Linked DNA regions of Homo sapiens: all the other regions are linked to region 3. The links are contacts of gene promoters, found by promoter capture Hi-C in blood cells and fetal thymus (Javierre and others, 2016). All regions are on one chromosome and are shown on one strand. Each heading gives the region's core, a stretch centred on a gene start or on the middle of the fragment in contact. The rest is flanking DNA. Distances are from core to core; before and after follow the strand shown. Region 1 overlaps PNRC1 (proline rich nuclear receptor coactivator 1). Region 2 holds the start of PM20D2 (peptidase M20 domain containing 2). Region 3 holds the start of CFAP206 (cilia and flagella associated protein 206). Region 4 holds the start of LOC105377885 (a long non-coding RNA gene).

Region 1 (4,077 bases), core at 344-2,843, 1.7 Mb before region 3:
CACCACCATCTGCTCAAACTTTTACCTCACAATTTTTTTCCTTTTTTGTGTGTCAAATACTTATCTTTTAAGGCTCAACTCAATTTTTTTTTTCATTTTTTTGAGATGGAGTCCTGCTCTGTCACCCAGGCTGGAATGCAGTGGCGCGATCTCGACTTACTGTAACCTCCGCCTCCCGAGTTCAAGCAATTTTCTGCCTCAGCCTCCTGAGTAGCTGGGATTACAGGTGCCTGCCACCAAGCCCGACTAATTTTTTTCTATTTTTAGTAGAGACAAGGTTTTACCATCTTGGCCAGGATAGTCTTGAACTCCTGACCTCGTGATCCATCCGCCTCAGCCTCCGTAGGTGCTGGGATTACAGGCGTGAGCCACCATGCCCAGCTCAACTCACTGTTACTTTCTAAGGTGTCAGATTCCCAAAGAGAAAATTTTCTCACCAAAATTAGTCCCTTCACCCTAAGAGACTTTACCTTTTTCTCTCTTCAGGCATTTGTTGTTGTAGAGTGGGGAATATAGCTTGTATTTTAGTTATATTTGTCTTTTCTCCCCATCCCACCTAAACTTTCAGCTCTGCCATTTATCCTTCTATTTCCTGAACATACGTTACACATAAGCCCTCACACATTAAACTGCAGACATACTGCTCAAAATGACAAGAGCTGAGAAATGTTGGACAAGGAAAGAAGGGTGGTTGAGGCGGTAGGACTTATATTACATTGTGTAGGAATTTTTATAACCATGTGCAAAAATGTGTTGTTAAAACCTGTTAATGTGTCCCTTTCTAGAATCACAAACTGATTTGGGAGAGATGTCAGAACTCACTGTAGTCAGTCATTAGTATTAATATTTACAACACATTACTAACAAAAGCTAAAATTGGTGACTAAAAATTGGGGGCATCTTCAAACTAAACTTCTAAATGAGCTTCCCTTCCATTTGTGAGGAAGGTGTATCTGCATTTGTAAGGAAGGAATGGTGACTCACACAAAACATCAAACAGAAGTTCCTTTGTATATTCGATCTTCTTTACTTGACCTGATTGCTTAACATTCCCACTCAAAATCTGTCTCCCTTACTTTCTCTTGGCCTTTTTTTTGAGACAGCGTCTGTTACCCAGGCTGGAGTGCAGTGGCCTGATCCTAGCTCAATTGCAATCTCCACTTCTCAGGCTCAAGAGATGCTCCCGTCTCAGCCTCTAGAGTAGTCAAGTACTATGCTCAAAAACCTCAATGCTGCTCCTGGTAAGAAAATGTAGATTATGGCCAGGCATGGCGGCTCACACTCAGCCAGTAAAGTAGAAGTCAAAAAAATCCAACCACACAAAATCATCTCCTAGTCACACATTCAAACATGAGAAACAGTCACACACAAAGAGTCAAGACTATTTTAAAAGGGGGGGCCAAATTATTATTATTTTAAAATTTGATTACAACCAATTTTGTTGGCATTAAAATTAGAGGCATTAAGCTGGAATGGATATATACCAAAACCAGAAATTGAGTTTAGCAAAAATGGGAATAGGAGTTGTTCAGTAATTTCAGATTACAAATCAATTTAGAGAAACAAACCCCATGCTTACATTGATTGTGCCACAGATTTAAACTTCAGTAGTGCATTAGTAAACTGTTCACATTTAGATCTTCACCTTGAGATTTGACAGCTGTTTCTTGAAAAAAATCTCAGTACCTTGTGCAAATAAAATCGGTCTTCCATGTGCCTTAGCACACACTTAAAATTTATCCATTGTATATATACAAAACACCTGCAATGTGGGCAGGGCAAAATACATACTTTCATAACAAAACTATAATATACCTCTCAAGTATGAACAATATACACATAATACATGGTATACAGTATTTACAAAATATAAAATATAATACAAGCTGTTTGTATGTAATTTTTTAAACTCATCTTTTGCAATTGTATGTTGCAACAAGGCAAATTTCCATTTCTGTACCAATTTTCTCAAGAGTCCAGGGATATGGGAAAAATTATGTTTTACACACATACTGAAATCTGAAATCTAAGTTTGAACTTTGAGGAGCGTTTTTAAGTGTACTGCCATCAGCTCCCTGTTTTGGTTGGAATTTTCAACAGTGCTTCCCATCCAGTGACTAGGAGGCTTTGGAAGAACACTAGGAGAAGGTGGATCACTAAACTTTGCCCCAGCATAATTTTCCTTTTGGCTCACTTCAGTTAGAAATGCTGATTTCTTCAAATGCGAATTTTTAATGTTCTCGGTATTTTTAAAAGGCTTTTTTTCCTGCTTCTGAATTCTGTCAGATGAAACAGAATCCTGCCAAAAGTTGTTTTCATTTCTTTTTGCAGAGGTGATCTTGGTTAGTGGCAAGTTATATTTGCTTTTCTGTCTGTTTATCTTTGGTTGCTCATACAAGTGTATACCATGAACAAGCTGGCCATGGGGAAGGGCAATTTTCTCCGATTTTCCCATCTTTGATTTTAAAACCTACAAAGACAAGAACACAAAAGTAAATATAGTTTCTAGATAAAAATCAGTTATGAACCTCATATCACATATCTAGTTTTGTTGTGTTTAAGTTTGCCCACAGCCATAGAAAAGAACAAAATTATGTTCTTTGTGACAACACGTATGTAGCTGGGGGCCATTACCCTAGACGAATTAATGCAGAAACAGAAAACCAAATATCGCAAGTTCTCACTTACAAGTGAATTTGGGAGCTAAACACTGGGTACAACATGGATATAGTGGGGAACAACAACAGACACTAGGCACTACTAGAAGGGGGGTTGAGAGAGAGATGGGGACCTACTGGGTACTATGCTCACTACCTGGAATGGGATCATTCATACTCCAAACCTCAGCATCACGAAATATACCCATGTAGCAAACCTGCACAAGTACCTCCTTGATCTAAAATAAAAGCTGAAAATTACAAAAACTTTAATTGGGCATGGTGGCTCACGCCTGTAATCCCAGCACTTTGGGAGGTCAAGGCAAGCAGATCGCTCAAGCTCAAGGAGTTCGAGACCAGCCTGGGCAACATAGCGAAACCCCATGTCTACTACAAATATAAAAATCAGCCCGGCGTGGTAACACGCGCCTCGGGAGGCTGGCTGAGGCGGGATCCCTTCAGCCTGGGAAGGGGAGGATGCAGTGAGCAGAGATCGATCGTGCCACTGCATTCCAGCCTGGAGTGCGATAGAGGCAGACTCTGTCTCAAGAAAAAAAAAACAACAAAAAACTTAAATTTCCCTTGACTTTTAAGTTCACTCTTGTTCGCCACTAAAAATGCAGTTAATCACCACTGCTAGTTACCAGTATGCAACGTGAACCAGTTCTAAAATGTCAAACTAAAAAAAGTCTGAAATAACCCAAGTCCACCTTTCTACAACTGTAAGGAAGACTAATGAGCTCTCTTCCAAATACGAGTGCCAGAAACAATCTTTGCTGTGTACCTCCTTTCTGGTTTAGTAACTGCTTCAAGAACGCTGCTTCACTCACCTTAATCTTTCCCAACTTAAGTGGGCCTTATAGGAAGTCTTGAAAGGATGGAAAAGCGTAAGGTAATCCACTAGATCACTGCACTACCAACACTTGTAACGCGGTAGTAAGCAAGACACGACACGAAAGAGGACCACAACTTTCCACGTCAATAAGGTTCACTGCCAGAGCTCCCTAGTTAGTACCTGTTCTAGAAAACAGGCCAGGAAACAAGCACAAAAGCTTTTAGGTAATCACGGATATTTCAAAAGTCGTGGAATTTTAAAAGGGAGACATTGAGACGATAATTTAAAGAAACAAGGTGGGCAAATTTTTTCCCAAGGGCACAGATAAACCGCAAATCTCTAATTCAATGCAACATTCTTCACTAAATAACGGGAACTTTTTCATTTCATTATTACGAAGATTAAGTCATTGAACTTAAGTCCATAAAACGTTATTCTGACAAGACTTTGAAATCATTTCGTAGACTTAATCCTATTTAAACTTCTATCCATTTTATCCTAATGCAATAGCACTGCAATCAGACGGGCTAAGTCAATTCAATTGCTAACTCTTCTGAAAACTTACTCTGGACACACTAACACGAA
Region 2 (3,907 bases), core at 227-2,726, 1.7 Mb before region 3:
CTTCCCCCAACCCAAACAAAAACCTAACAAATGCAAAAACGAGCCTCCAGAGACAGAAAAAAGAAGGCAGCTAAAGTGAAAAAGCCACAAAAGATGTAGTGTTAGGATAAAAGAGGAAGGTTACTGACACTGGGGGAAATGAACTAAAGAGTATGAAAATAAAACATTTGTTTTCCCCTTAACTGAATGACGATTGAATCTTAGCTCATAGTGTAGAATATACCATCTGGAAAAGCAGAGTAAAACAGGATTAAACTTGCCCTACGACAAACATAAACGACATTTCCCTGTTTAAAGAGTCGAGGTATTTCTTAAAATCATAAAACAAAAAAATTAAGACTTAAGGATGAACTCATCTATGTATAATGCTCATTCACTTCCCCTTTATTTGTATACTTCTAGGGGTCTGGTGGTTCTAGCGACTGAAAATTCCTATCCAAATACCAATGACTTGAATCACATTTTCTAGGACTGCCACAAACAAAAGATTTATTTGGAGACGAATAAAAAGGGGCCGTAGGATTACCTACAAGAAGTTATTTCCTCCTGAGATTGATGGCACAACCTTGTCAGCAAATTGCTGTTGCCTCTCTCAGTTACCAAAAATAACCCGTAACAAACACCAGGCTTGGGTGTAAGTTCTTTCCTAAGGGAACAACTCAGCAGAGCTGTTTATAACTAGAGAGGAGGAAACAATAATCTGCAAGATGTCGCCAGGTCGGCAACGCGAACTGACTTTGACTGGGGGTTCAGCTCTGCTCCTGCGCCGAGGCGAGGACCGCAGGTTTAGCGCGGTCCCACACACACCTGCCCCGGGCGGGAGGGCACCGAGGCGCGCGGGACGCACGAGAGTCCCGCCCTTCCCGGGTCGCCCCCGACCCGGGCAGTCGGATAGGGTCCCGCACCCGGGCCCCACCTCACCTTCACGGGCGGAGGCGGCCTGGGGAGGCCCTCTAAGGCCCCCCTCACGCCCAGCGCGGCCGCCGCCCCGACCTCAGCGATGAGGTTGTGGCCGCAGGCGTGGCCGATGCCGGGCAGCGCGTCGTACTCGCAGAGGAAGCCCAGGTGCAGCGGGCGTGGCGTGGCGCTCGGTGCCCGGGCCTCCGGCGGCTCCCACTCGGCGCGGAAGGCCGTGGGCAGCTGGTAGTGCGGCTGCACTGCCCAGGAGGCCGCGGGCGGCTCCCGCTCGAAGAAGTGCGTCAGCACGCGGTGGGCATGGTGCTCCTCGTAGGCCAGCTCGGGCTGGCTCCAGATCGCGCGGCTCAGGGCCCCCAGCCGCTCGGCCGCCTCGTCGATGCACTCCGCCGAGCGCAGCTTCAGTAGCTCCAGCTCGGAGCGGCCATTGCACGCGCCCCCTTCCACGGGCCGCTCCCCTCCGGGCCTCATGCTGCCCAAGCCCGCTGCCCTCTGCGCCCTCTCGCTCCCTGGCTCGGCCGCAGGTAGCGACCGCCCGCGCACGCGCCCAGAGGCCTCCAGGACCCCGGCGGAGCGCGCACGCGGCCACACAGCTCCCAGGGCACCACCCCCAGTCCCGGGGCCGCCCCCGGCGCCGCGCGGGAAACGCTGGCGGCCGCTCGTACCCTACCAGGCGCTCTGCCCCGCCGTGGGGTTTTGGGGGTGCTGTGGAGAAGGCAGGGCTCGGGACTCTTCCACCTCCTTGGCTGCTCTGGCCTTTGAGTTATGCTCTAAGATTATCGATTACTTTTCCGTTGTTGCTTATTTCCCACAGCAGCAGAATGAGAACGGTTATTAGTTAATAGCCATCAGAGACAGACCAAGTGGAACACAGTCCTCGGAAAAACGCCACTCTGTAGCATTAGTAATTAAAACCTCACAAGGTTTGTATTTCCTGAAGGAGGCCGTCAGTGTCAATGCTGTACTAACGACGGTACTGTACGTAAGTTTCGGTACTGCCCCCACTTTCTTCTCCTTGACATTGTATTACTAAAAGCTGCAGCTACTCTCTACAGTTTTCTCATTGGTTACTAATGTCTGGAACAGCAGCTAGATTATGCAGTAAGCTCTTGGTATGTATTAGCTATTATATAATAATTTATTTGAATAGAGTAGAACTAAAAATTTGAAATGAGTTAAAACCAAAGAGTTAAAAGATTTATGGTAGTAAATATTCATACTGTTTTGTTGATTTGGACAGTTGTCTTGAACAGCTTTGAAAGGGAACATATGACAGGTTTCGTTTATAATTTTAATTGATGCTGAACTCCACTAACATGATATGTGCAGCTGGTGTTACATTATAACTGAGTTTTTTAATTACCCAGTGAAGAAATTCAAGATGTCATGCTCTTGTTTTTCTCCAGAGTGAACCACAAAGTCTGAAAAACTGTTGTTGACGGTATGCCTATTAATAACACTGTAGATGTTTATATTCTGAGGTTTTCCACATATTAAAAGCTTCTATCAGCTCTTCATACCCTATCATCTTTCCTTAATTTGTCTCAACTATGTTAAATGGGACACAATATATTAATGTGATAAACCAAATGAATATTTTGAAAATAAGTCTAAGGGAAGCTAACATGCACGAAGACTATCAACTACTGTTTTTACTACTCTATATGCTAATAATACCAGAGTAAATGTCACATTCCATTCACGTCTGAAAACTTTCTTTCTCAGTTAACACTCCAACAAAAACTCAGCTCTAAAAACAACAAATGTGTTATTAAATTCCTGGGCCCCCTTGGCGATAATAAATCTTTCTCTGGTATTCTGCTGAAGAAAATTACCCTGTATCCACGAGATCCAATATTATCCTGCTCAGTTAGTTGGCTAAAAAAAGGGGAGAAGGGGGGATTGGAGAGCAAAAGCAATAGGTGACATTTGTAGAGCAATTACTCTGTGCTAGGCACTGTTCCAAGGGCTTAGCATTTGTTAACTCATTTAATCCTCACAGCAAACTATGAGGTGGTTAATGTGGTTATTTATCTTCATTTTACAGATGTATGTCCAAGATTATAGAGCTAGTAAGTAGTGGACCCACTGTAGAACAGAAGCCAGAGTCAGCCTCCAGTGGCTGACTTTCAGCCACCATGGTCTATTGCTTGTGTAAACAGACATGCAAATTCATAAATGCATCTCCAGTTTATCTATTCAAATCAGAACCCACAACACTCATTTTGAATAAATTTTACTGCAGCAACTCTGCCTGCTGACATCAGTAGAACCCATGTTTGCCCTCCTCAGGCATCAATAAACAGCAACAGAAAAGGGATGCATATAATTTCATATAGAAGCTGCTATTTATATTGCTTTGCAGGAATTAACAAAGCTGCCACTTGAGGTAGAGGAAAGACAGATTCATTTCAAGCTCTGTTCCTTGTGTATATATGTGGGTGGGTGGGTGGGTATACATGCCCACAGGCACGTATGTATTCAGTTTCTACTGTTGACACCTTGTATTTCTTGCTCATGGTATTTTGCACCCTTGAATTCATTTATTTGATAAACTGTGATAACTTGCTGACCGTTTATCTTCCCCTCCAGGCTTTAAACTCTTTTGTTTTCCCACTGCATTCCCCAGCACCTAACATCTTATGGTCAGCATTTCCTCTGTGTTAATAAATATTTGTTGGCTGATTATTCTTCTTGAATCTAATAAACTAACTGAATAATGGCAGCAATTAACCATTAAACGACACTGACTACCAATAGACATTGTTATGCTTCTTCCTAGACTTCTCAGTCCTTTATGTGGAGCTGGGGGCAGGAAGAATTGCTTCTGGAAGCTGATGGAGTTGGACATGTGGCTTTCTAGAATCTGGTCAGCTCATAAATTCTTACTATTACTTTCATTTGTACCCATAATATTCATACAACTGTCTACCCTATCTATGTGCTACTGGTAAGGAACCTGTATGTTTTTATTAGAAACAAAAAAAAATGT
Region 3 (4,003 bases), core at 1,210-3,709:
CATCAGTACCCTTGTTAGAGGTTGAAAAAAGGAAGCAACAAACATCAAACTTGAATATGGTGCTAGAAAAGTTATATGGGGAAATAAGTTGAAAGCAATGGCTAGGTTTTCAATTGGGAAACTATGGCATATTTTATTGTATTTTTATTGTGTATTGTTAACCAAAAGCAAGAACAGAGAAACCACAGCAATGAGTAATTTTTAACAACGGCAAACAAAAATACACGTCAAAAAATTCCCACACAGGAGAACATTATTGATGTTTCCAAAACTCATCAAGGTCTTCTAAATGTCTCTATAAATCTAGAACTCACATGCTCTATAAACTTTTTAAAAATGTTTTCACAAATTTGTCCAATTATCTCGTTATGCTTCAACTGAAAAACATTTATGAAAGCCTCACAGAATTTAAAGGGGAAAATGGACACCACATCTTAAAAAACCTCTTAATAAAACAGTAATCACAAAAATATTTCTTCTTACCATAAAAGCAATCAGAGTTTCAGAAACAATCTCTCCATGGGCTGCACATTCTTGTCCTATTTCTCGTATAATACTCCTTATAACACTTTCGGCCTGAGTTGGAGGCATTCTGGCTAAATAAAACAACAATTTTTTTTAAAAAAACCGTGGTTTTATGCAAATTTATTTTTTTCCTCTTTTGATTTCTGCAATATTGTATTTGTAAACAGTCATAATATCATCTATTAGCTTATTAGCATTTTTATTAGTATCTAGGCCTCTCCTGTTTTTCATTATTTTTAAAAATGAAGGACTTTATTGAAGACAGACAACGATTGGGATTTCAAATAATTGAAACATTTGATAAATAACATTTTCAATTATTTAAATTATGGTCACTAAACATATATTCCTATCATGATATTCTTAATTAAAAAAAAAAAAAAAGGCTAAGCAGGCTGGGCGCGATGGCTCACGCCTGTAATCCCAGCACTTTGGGAGGCCAAGGCAGGCAGATCACCTGAGGTCGGGAGTTCGAGACCAGCCTGACCAACTCAGAGAAACCCCGTCTCTACTAAAAATACAAAATTAGCCGGGAGTGGTGGCACACGCCTGTAATCCCAGCTACTTGGGAGGCTGAGGCAGGAGAATCGTTTGAACCCGGGAGGCGGAGGTTGCGGTGCCATTGCACTCCAGCCTGGGCAACAAGAGCGAAACTGTGTCTCAGGAAAAAAAAAAAAAGGCTAAGCAGTATTTGTAGGGGAGGGAGGTAAAATTAATGAGAAACCCAAGAGTACAGCTTTAAAAGGAGAAATGCTTATTCCACCACATTCATTAAATGACCCTTCAGAACTGTACTAGAATCTTGGAAAACAATTCTTGCTCAGATCATTAAAATGATCTTTTCCGCACATCTAAAATAGAGTTCAGACTCTCGATAAAAAAAAGCATTTACTATAAGGAAAAAGTGGTAGGTTTTGATCGAGTTTTCTGATTTTCCTGAATATCAGTAACTAAGCACAATGGAAGTTGGCATGTAGAGTATAACAAAGGCAATATCAGGTAGATAAAGCCAACTCCTCAGCATTATTAGCTTTCCAATGGATGAGTACGAAGCACTAGGCATTTTGTCCAGTGAAACCAGATTGCCTGGATTCCATGGTGACCCGACCACTGTCCAGCTGTGAGACCTTGGGCACTTGCTTCACTTCTTTCCAGAGGTGTGAGGACTAAATTAGTCCTGTTTTTAGTGGTTACAACAGTGCGCGGCTTAAGGGAATCGCTTAAAACAGCTTATAATCAGTACTCCAAGATCACAGGCAGCGCATGCGCAAGTGCCAGTCAGTGGGAGAGTCCGTCGCGCTCCGGATCTGTGTGCGCGCTCCGGATCTGTGTGCGCGCTCCGGATCTGTGTGCGCGCTCCGGATCTGTGTGCGCGCTCCGGATCTGTGTGCGCGCTCCGGATCTGTGTGCGCGCTCCGGATCTGTGTGCGCGCTCCGGATCTGTGTGCGCATGCGCGCCGCTGCCGGGTCGCTAGGGACGCGGCTCAGCACCTTCCCTGCACCCACCCTCCAATTACTAAGTCTCCCGAGGTCCGGCTTCTGGGGTAGCCAGTGGAGCGAAACAGAAGCGGGAGGCCTCAGGCACCCGCGCAAAGGCTAGAGGGCAGCCCTGCAGCCCTGGGGTGGCGCCTCCGGCAGGAATGGACCGCTGTTCCAGCTCTGCGGCGGCGCAGCCTAAAGGATCGAGACTGAGAGCTAAGTCTCGACGAGGCAGGACGCGGTCCTCCAGCCGCCCGAGCTCCGCCAGCCGCCCCAAGCTCGCCGCCTGGCGGGGTACGCCTCCGGGTCAAGGGCGCGGAGCCCCGAGTAGGCTGACCTGGATCGGAATCGACAGCAGGAGCCGTGTCTGTCTGCTTCTGTCCTGGGGCCCTCACCGCGACGGTCGGAGCAGTTGGGCGCTCGCAGCCACCGCCGCGTAACCATGGAGATGGAAGGCTCCGGACCAGAGGGGGCGGGGCCAGGTGGGGGTGGGGCGGGGTCCCACTTTGAGGGTCTTTCCCCCAAAAGATGGGCTGGAAAAACTTTAAAAACAAAGGAATTTCAGGCAGAGACATCTTAACCTCCGTGGTTAAGACTGTGAAACACAAGTTCTCGTAAATAAGGATATTAACTTGCTAGCGTGGGAATGATGAGGCGGCTTTGAAAGCGGGGTGGGGGAGAGGGAGGAGCCAGTTGGAGAGGCTGGGAAAACGGAAGGGCTGTATCCTGGGCAAATAGAGTTCTTGTAAAAGTATCTAGTTTTAAAAAACAAAAGTAAAAAGTATCGAGGTTTTATTTCATGTCCCGTTGTTCAAAGGAAGTCTGTAACAGAACGCTCCAAGATGCCCGAAGAGAAAACTGCTCATTCAAGAAGCACATGATAAGAACACATTAGTGTCCGAGTCAAAATAATGAGGTTTTATCCCTTAACGATAATATCGTTAGGCCCACCTTCAGACGTGAAAGTGTGAAAAAGGATTAAATACTCATTAGAAGGAGAGCATCAAACAACAAGGTTTTATTTTTAAACAGTAATTTTTCTCAAACTGCAAACAAATATGCAGAATATGCTTTGCTTAAGGACATTCCCTGATTACTAGGAAATGAATCAACACAAAAACTCAAGAATATACATCATAATATAACACAATTTTATTTCCGCCTTCTAGAAAATGTTCCCGGAATGTGGAAGAAGCTTGTGTAAAAATAGATGTTCAGAGTAACAAGATTTATAATAGCACAGCCTTAGAAATCTAAACACGTTATTTAAGTAAAATATCAGGCAGGTATTTAAAATTATGTTAACAAAAACCTTGTGTTTGTCTTATATTTGTTAAAAGCCAAATGCGAAATTTTTATATAATATGACTTAAACTATATTGACATACATATAATGCACAAAAAGTGTAGGTCAGTTTTTCAAAATCACAGCAAGCAATTAGATCTAAGGATGGAATTATAGGTAAATTACTTTTATTTCTTTATACTTTTCTGTTTTTTCTAGATTTTTCCATAATGAGTATATATTGTCTTATGATCTATAAAACAAAATTTAAAAATACAAGGGAGATGAGACTGGCTATTTGTAGAGAATGAACCCAATTTAGATATACAAATATACTGTAAGTATACAAGGTAAAGCAACCAAAGGACGGTGAGATAGCAAAATTTTAACAGTGGTTGTAACTTTGTAATGGCTTATGGCTGATTTGTCTTCTTTATACTTTAAGATAGCTACCAAAATGTCTTCCATGAGCATATATTATATATTAGAATATTAAATATCTTTTAAGATGGTAAGAATAATACCATCATATTAAGTATAGTTTTAAACTAATGGGCAAATCCTGGCACAAATACTCCCTGAAGTATGTTTGATACTGTTAATTCCTACTTAATGTCAATGTTTTCTTCTCTTTCTGTTACTAATTTAACCCTGTGTTGGGAATGACAGTGTTCTCTTTTAAAAAAAAAAATCTCTCAACCTCTTTCTCAGTGA
Region 4 (3,874 bases), core at 295-2,794, 1.0 Mb before region 3:
TAGTGAGTAAATTTATTTTAATAGAAATATTCAATAGCATTTTTTGCATTTTTATTTCACTTATACTATTTCTAGAAAAAAAATTATATATTTAATTATTCTGAATTGGGCCTGAAAGAACTTCTACATTGAGACTACAATTAGCTTTGGCCTTAGTCCATTACAAAGGAAGTAAAGGCAATTGGAAAATGACCAAATGATGTAAACAGGCAACTTAAAAGACAGAAAATTTGTATTTGTGTGGTCAATACACGTAAAATATTCTTTTTTTTACGGGTAATTATAAATGCACATTGAATCAGCAATGATATACTAGTTTCATCTATCATTTAAAATCACACAGCGGCTTTAATTTTAAATGATAATACACAGCATTGGCTCTCTCATTCTCAGCTGGTGGCAGGGTAAGCTGACACAATCTTTGTACAGTTTGGCAATATATACCAAATCTTTAACAACCAGCACACACTTTAATTTAGCAATTTCACTTCTAAGAATTTATTCATAGAATATAACTAAGGGCAATGCCAAAGATGTTCACTGCAGAATTTTTCAGTGATATTTAAAAATACAAAGGCTAAAAAACCAACAATTAGAAATTTGTTCATTAAATTATAATTCATGCATATGATAGAGTACTATGCATTCATAAAAACGGCAGATGTCACAGAAATTTTGGCCTGGGAAGATACTCATAACATCTTGTTTTGTGCCAAAAGCAGGTTACACCAAGATGTATTGTAAAGCTATAGTTGATCAAGATAGTGTGTTATTGACTTAGATATAAGTTTAGGCAAATAGATTGGTGGAATGAAATAGAGACCAGAAATAGATGCAGATATATACAGTCAGTTAATTTTTAACAAAGGCACAAAGCATTTGAAAGGGAAAAGAAAACCCTTTCAACAAACAATCCTAGAAAAACTAGACATCCATGTGAGAAAATAAATGTACCCTAGCCCCTACCTCACACCATAAACCAAAAAAGTAATTCAAAATTGATCATAGACCTAAACATAAAAGCAAAAATTATAAAGCTTCTAAAAGAAAACAAGGATAATATCTTTGCAATTTTGGGAGAGGCAAAAATGTCTTAGCTAAGTCACAAAAGCACTAACCATAAAACATAAAATTGGTAAATTAGACATTATCAAAATTTATTCTCATAAAAACACACCACTAAAGAAATGAAAAGGTGCACCACAGACTGGGATCAAAGGTTTGCAACCCAAATAGCTGACAAAATACTTGTAATCAGAATAAACAAACAATGCCAACAATTCAATATTGAAAAACCAAATAACCCAATTAAAATAAACAAGGAGATACTTTGCAAAAGAAGATACTTCCCAAATACTAGTGGATATTTCACAAAAGAAGATAATGTAAATGACCAATAAACACATGAAAAAGGTGCTCAATAACATTAGACATTGGGGAAATGCAACTTAAAACTTCAGTGAAAGATTACTACATACTTACGAGATTGCTGCAACTTGAAAATGGGAAGTTAAATGTTGGTGAGTACATATAGTAACTGAAACTCTAATAAATTGCTGGTGGAAGTGTAAAATGATACTATCACTTCAGAAAATCATTTGGCAATTTTAAAAATAAGATCAAATATATATCTAGCCTGTGATGTGCAATTAAACTCCTTAGTTTTTACCCAAGATAAATGAAGACATACACCCATGAAAAAAAAGACTTGTACAAAGATGTTAACAACAGCTTTATTCGTATTAGCTCTAAACTCTGAAGACAACCTAAAGTCTGTAAATAGGTAAATTAATTAACAATTTGTGGTATATTCATACAGTAGAATACTAGGCAGCAATAAGAAGGAATGAACAACATTTAGCAACAAGAATGAATCTTTAGTGATACTGCTGAGTAAGAAAAGCAAGACAGAAAAAAGTACATACTGTCTGATTCAATTTATAAGAAGTACAATAACAAATGAAAATGATTATATGGTGAAAAACCACAAACAGTGGTTGCTGCTGGGGAGGTGGGCAGGGATTGACTGAAAGAGGTCATGAGAAAGCTTTTTGGACAGACATAAATACTTTGTGATTAGTGATGGTTGCATATGACATTTGTCAAAACTCATCAATGTACACACAAAATCTGTGCATTTTATTTGTGGCAACATTTCTAAGAAGGTCACCATTAATCCCTGCCTCTTGGTATTTCAAACTCTCTCACATTCATTGTTGGTCTGGGTGACCCTGAGGATACAGCAGAAATGGTGTATGTAACTTCTGACATTGGGTAATGGAAGACACCATGGCTTCCGTTTTGATCTTGCTTTCATGCTCTTCCTCTTTTGGATCACTTGCTCTGGGGAAGCCAGCTGCCATGTCCTGAAGATACTAAGGCAACCGTGTGCAGAGGAACTAAAATACCGAGTTCAACAACAGGTGAGTAGGGAAAACCAAAAACCAGGGCAGGGAGCTTGGAAATGGCTAGTCCGGTCTTCAGATGACTGTAGCTTGGCTTACCTCTTCACTGCAACTTCATGGGAGATCCAGCACCAGAACCACTCAACCGAGCCACTCTCAGGTTCCTGATCCACATGAACTTTGTGAGTTAAAAAATGTTTGTGTTTTTTAAGTTGCTAAAATTTGGGGTACTTTTTAATGCAGTAGTAGAAAATTGATGCCCTTTGTATATAAATTCCTTAATTTAAAATAAAGCAAGTAACATAACATATAGTATATTGGTCTGTTTCTTTAAAAAACATCTTGTACATCAAAATATTGATAACTGTTGTCTGGGTGGTAAGATTATGTGTGGTTTAACTTCTTTATGTTTCTAAGTATTTTTTATTTCTTCTAAATAGTATTATACAAATATTGTAACTTTTAAAATAAACTTTTAATAAAAGCAGAAAATAAAAATAACTCTTTTTTTTTCTGTGTTCACCCTTCTACAGATCACAGGTTGCGAGAGGTCTTAAATCCATACTCTTCCAGTGACTAGAGCAAATGCAGCCCTAGGTCTGGCATCCTGAATTTTTGTCTTATTTTTTCATTAGTACACGAGACTCTACTTTCATCTTTTTAAAAGGTCTCTTGCTATCCTTCAAGCAAAGCTATCTCCAAATCTGAAGAAGAGACCAAGAAATAGAAAAAGTAGCACCTCTTGCCTGCTTCCCTGTCTAATATTTGAAAGAGTGGTGAGTATTGATGTTATTATTGCCTTTTCCTTTTTTTATATTGCTACCAAAGCCATGAGTATTCTCTTTTTTTCTTTCTCTTTTTAAAAAACAAAAAATACTAAACTCAGTTTTTAAAGGGGTTTATAACCCTTGGGTCTTGGTCCCATCCAAAAGCATCTTCATTTTTATTCACTCGGAAAATCTGACTTTATGTGGTGAGCCCAAGAAGATTTGGGTTGAGGTGGTCTGAGGATTTGGGTTGAGGCCAAAAGCCAGTACCAGGGCTGAATAGTGGCAAAAATTGGGGCCAAAACCTATAGCAAGTGCAGAATGATGGGAACTCCCAGGTGTCCTGTGGTTCTTTTTGTTCCCAGGAGGCTCTGTAGCACCATTTGAACTTCTTGTTCTTTAGAATCATCCCCAGCTTTTGCAGTATTCTCAGACACAGCAGGAAAAACAGCCACGCAGCTTGAACTTAGGGTGCACACTGTGATGCTCACATAGAGCTGGGAACACTCTTGGCATGGTGCACACACCTTTTAATGGATGCAGCCGTCATCCACCAAGTGCCAATGACGACAGGCAACCAGCTGTCATAGCTTACATTGCCAGGGCCTTGTAGAAAAGGTATGACACAGAAAACATCAGTATCCAGGAAGTGATTACGTCCATTTTCTGTGACTCTGGGCCAGATTATGCAGTCTCTGTGTT

The links. Contacts are between HindIII fragments. The CHiCAGO score rates a contact against its expected background, and 5 or more counts as called.
Region 1: a fragment that was not itself captured here is called in contact with the fragment with the promoter of CFAP206 in region 3 in 1 of 17 cell types (non-activated CD4 T cells); the score reaches 5.3 in non-activated CD4 T cells.
Region 2: a contact is called between the fragment with the promoter of PM20D2 here and the fragment with the promoter of CFAP206 in region 3, in 3 of 17 cell types (total CD8 T cells, non-activated CD4 T cells and naive CD8 T cells). The highest score is 9.2, in total CD8 T cells.
Region 4: a contact is called between a fragment that was not itself captured here and the fragment with the promoter of CFAP206 in region 3, in 1 of 17 cell types (M1 macrophages). The highest score is 5.3, in M1 macrophages.

The regions. Positions count from the first base shown.
Region 1 is chr6:89,082,146-89,086,222 of GRCh38, reverse strand. PNRC1 (proline rich nuclear receptor coactivator 1) reads right to left here. Exons shown (of 2, transcript NM_006813.3): 2 at 1,063-2,470. The coding sequence ends at 2,027. Among named protein-coding and RNA genes, the nearest start is that of PNRC1, 3.4 kb to the right of the region's middle. RefSeq lists enhancers at 662-1,188, 1,189-1,716, 3,799-4,077. The HindIII fragment of the contact is 4,237 bases long and covers 1-3,711 here.
Region 2 is chr6:89,143,624-89,147,530 of GRCh38, reverse strand. It overlaps PM20D2 (peptidase M20 domain containing 2), which reads right to left and starts at 1,476. Exons shown (of 7, transcript NM_001010853.3): 1 at 922-1,476. The coding sequence starts at 1,386. It overlaps LOC101929004 (a long non-coding RNA gene), which reads left to right and starts at 665. Exons shown (of 4, transcript XR_942766.4): 1 at 665-1,838; 2 at 3,698-3,784. RefSeq lists a silencer at 730-1,659. The HindIII fragment of the contact is 3,355 bases long and covers 1-2,417 here.
Region 3 is chr6:87,406,428-87,410,430 of GRCh38, reverse strand. CFAP206 (cilia and flagella associated protein 206) reads right to left here and starts at 2,459. Exons shown (of 13, transcript NM_001031743.3): 1 at 2,342-2,459; 2 at 484-596. The coding sequence starts at 591. The HindIII fragment of the contact is 4,290 bases long and covers 1-3,201 here.
Region 4 is chr6:88,441,391-88,445,264 of GRCh38, reverse strand. It overlaps LOC105377885 (a long non-coding RNA gene), which reads left to right and starts at 2,346. Exons shown (of 6, transcript XR_007059669.1): 1 at 2,346-2,423; 2 at 2,939-3,181. The HindIII fragment of the contact is 1,010 bases long and covers 1,040-2,049 here.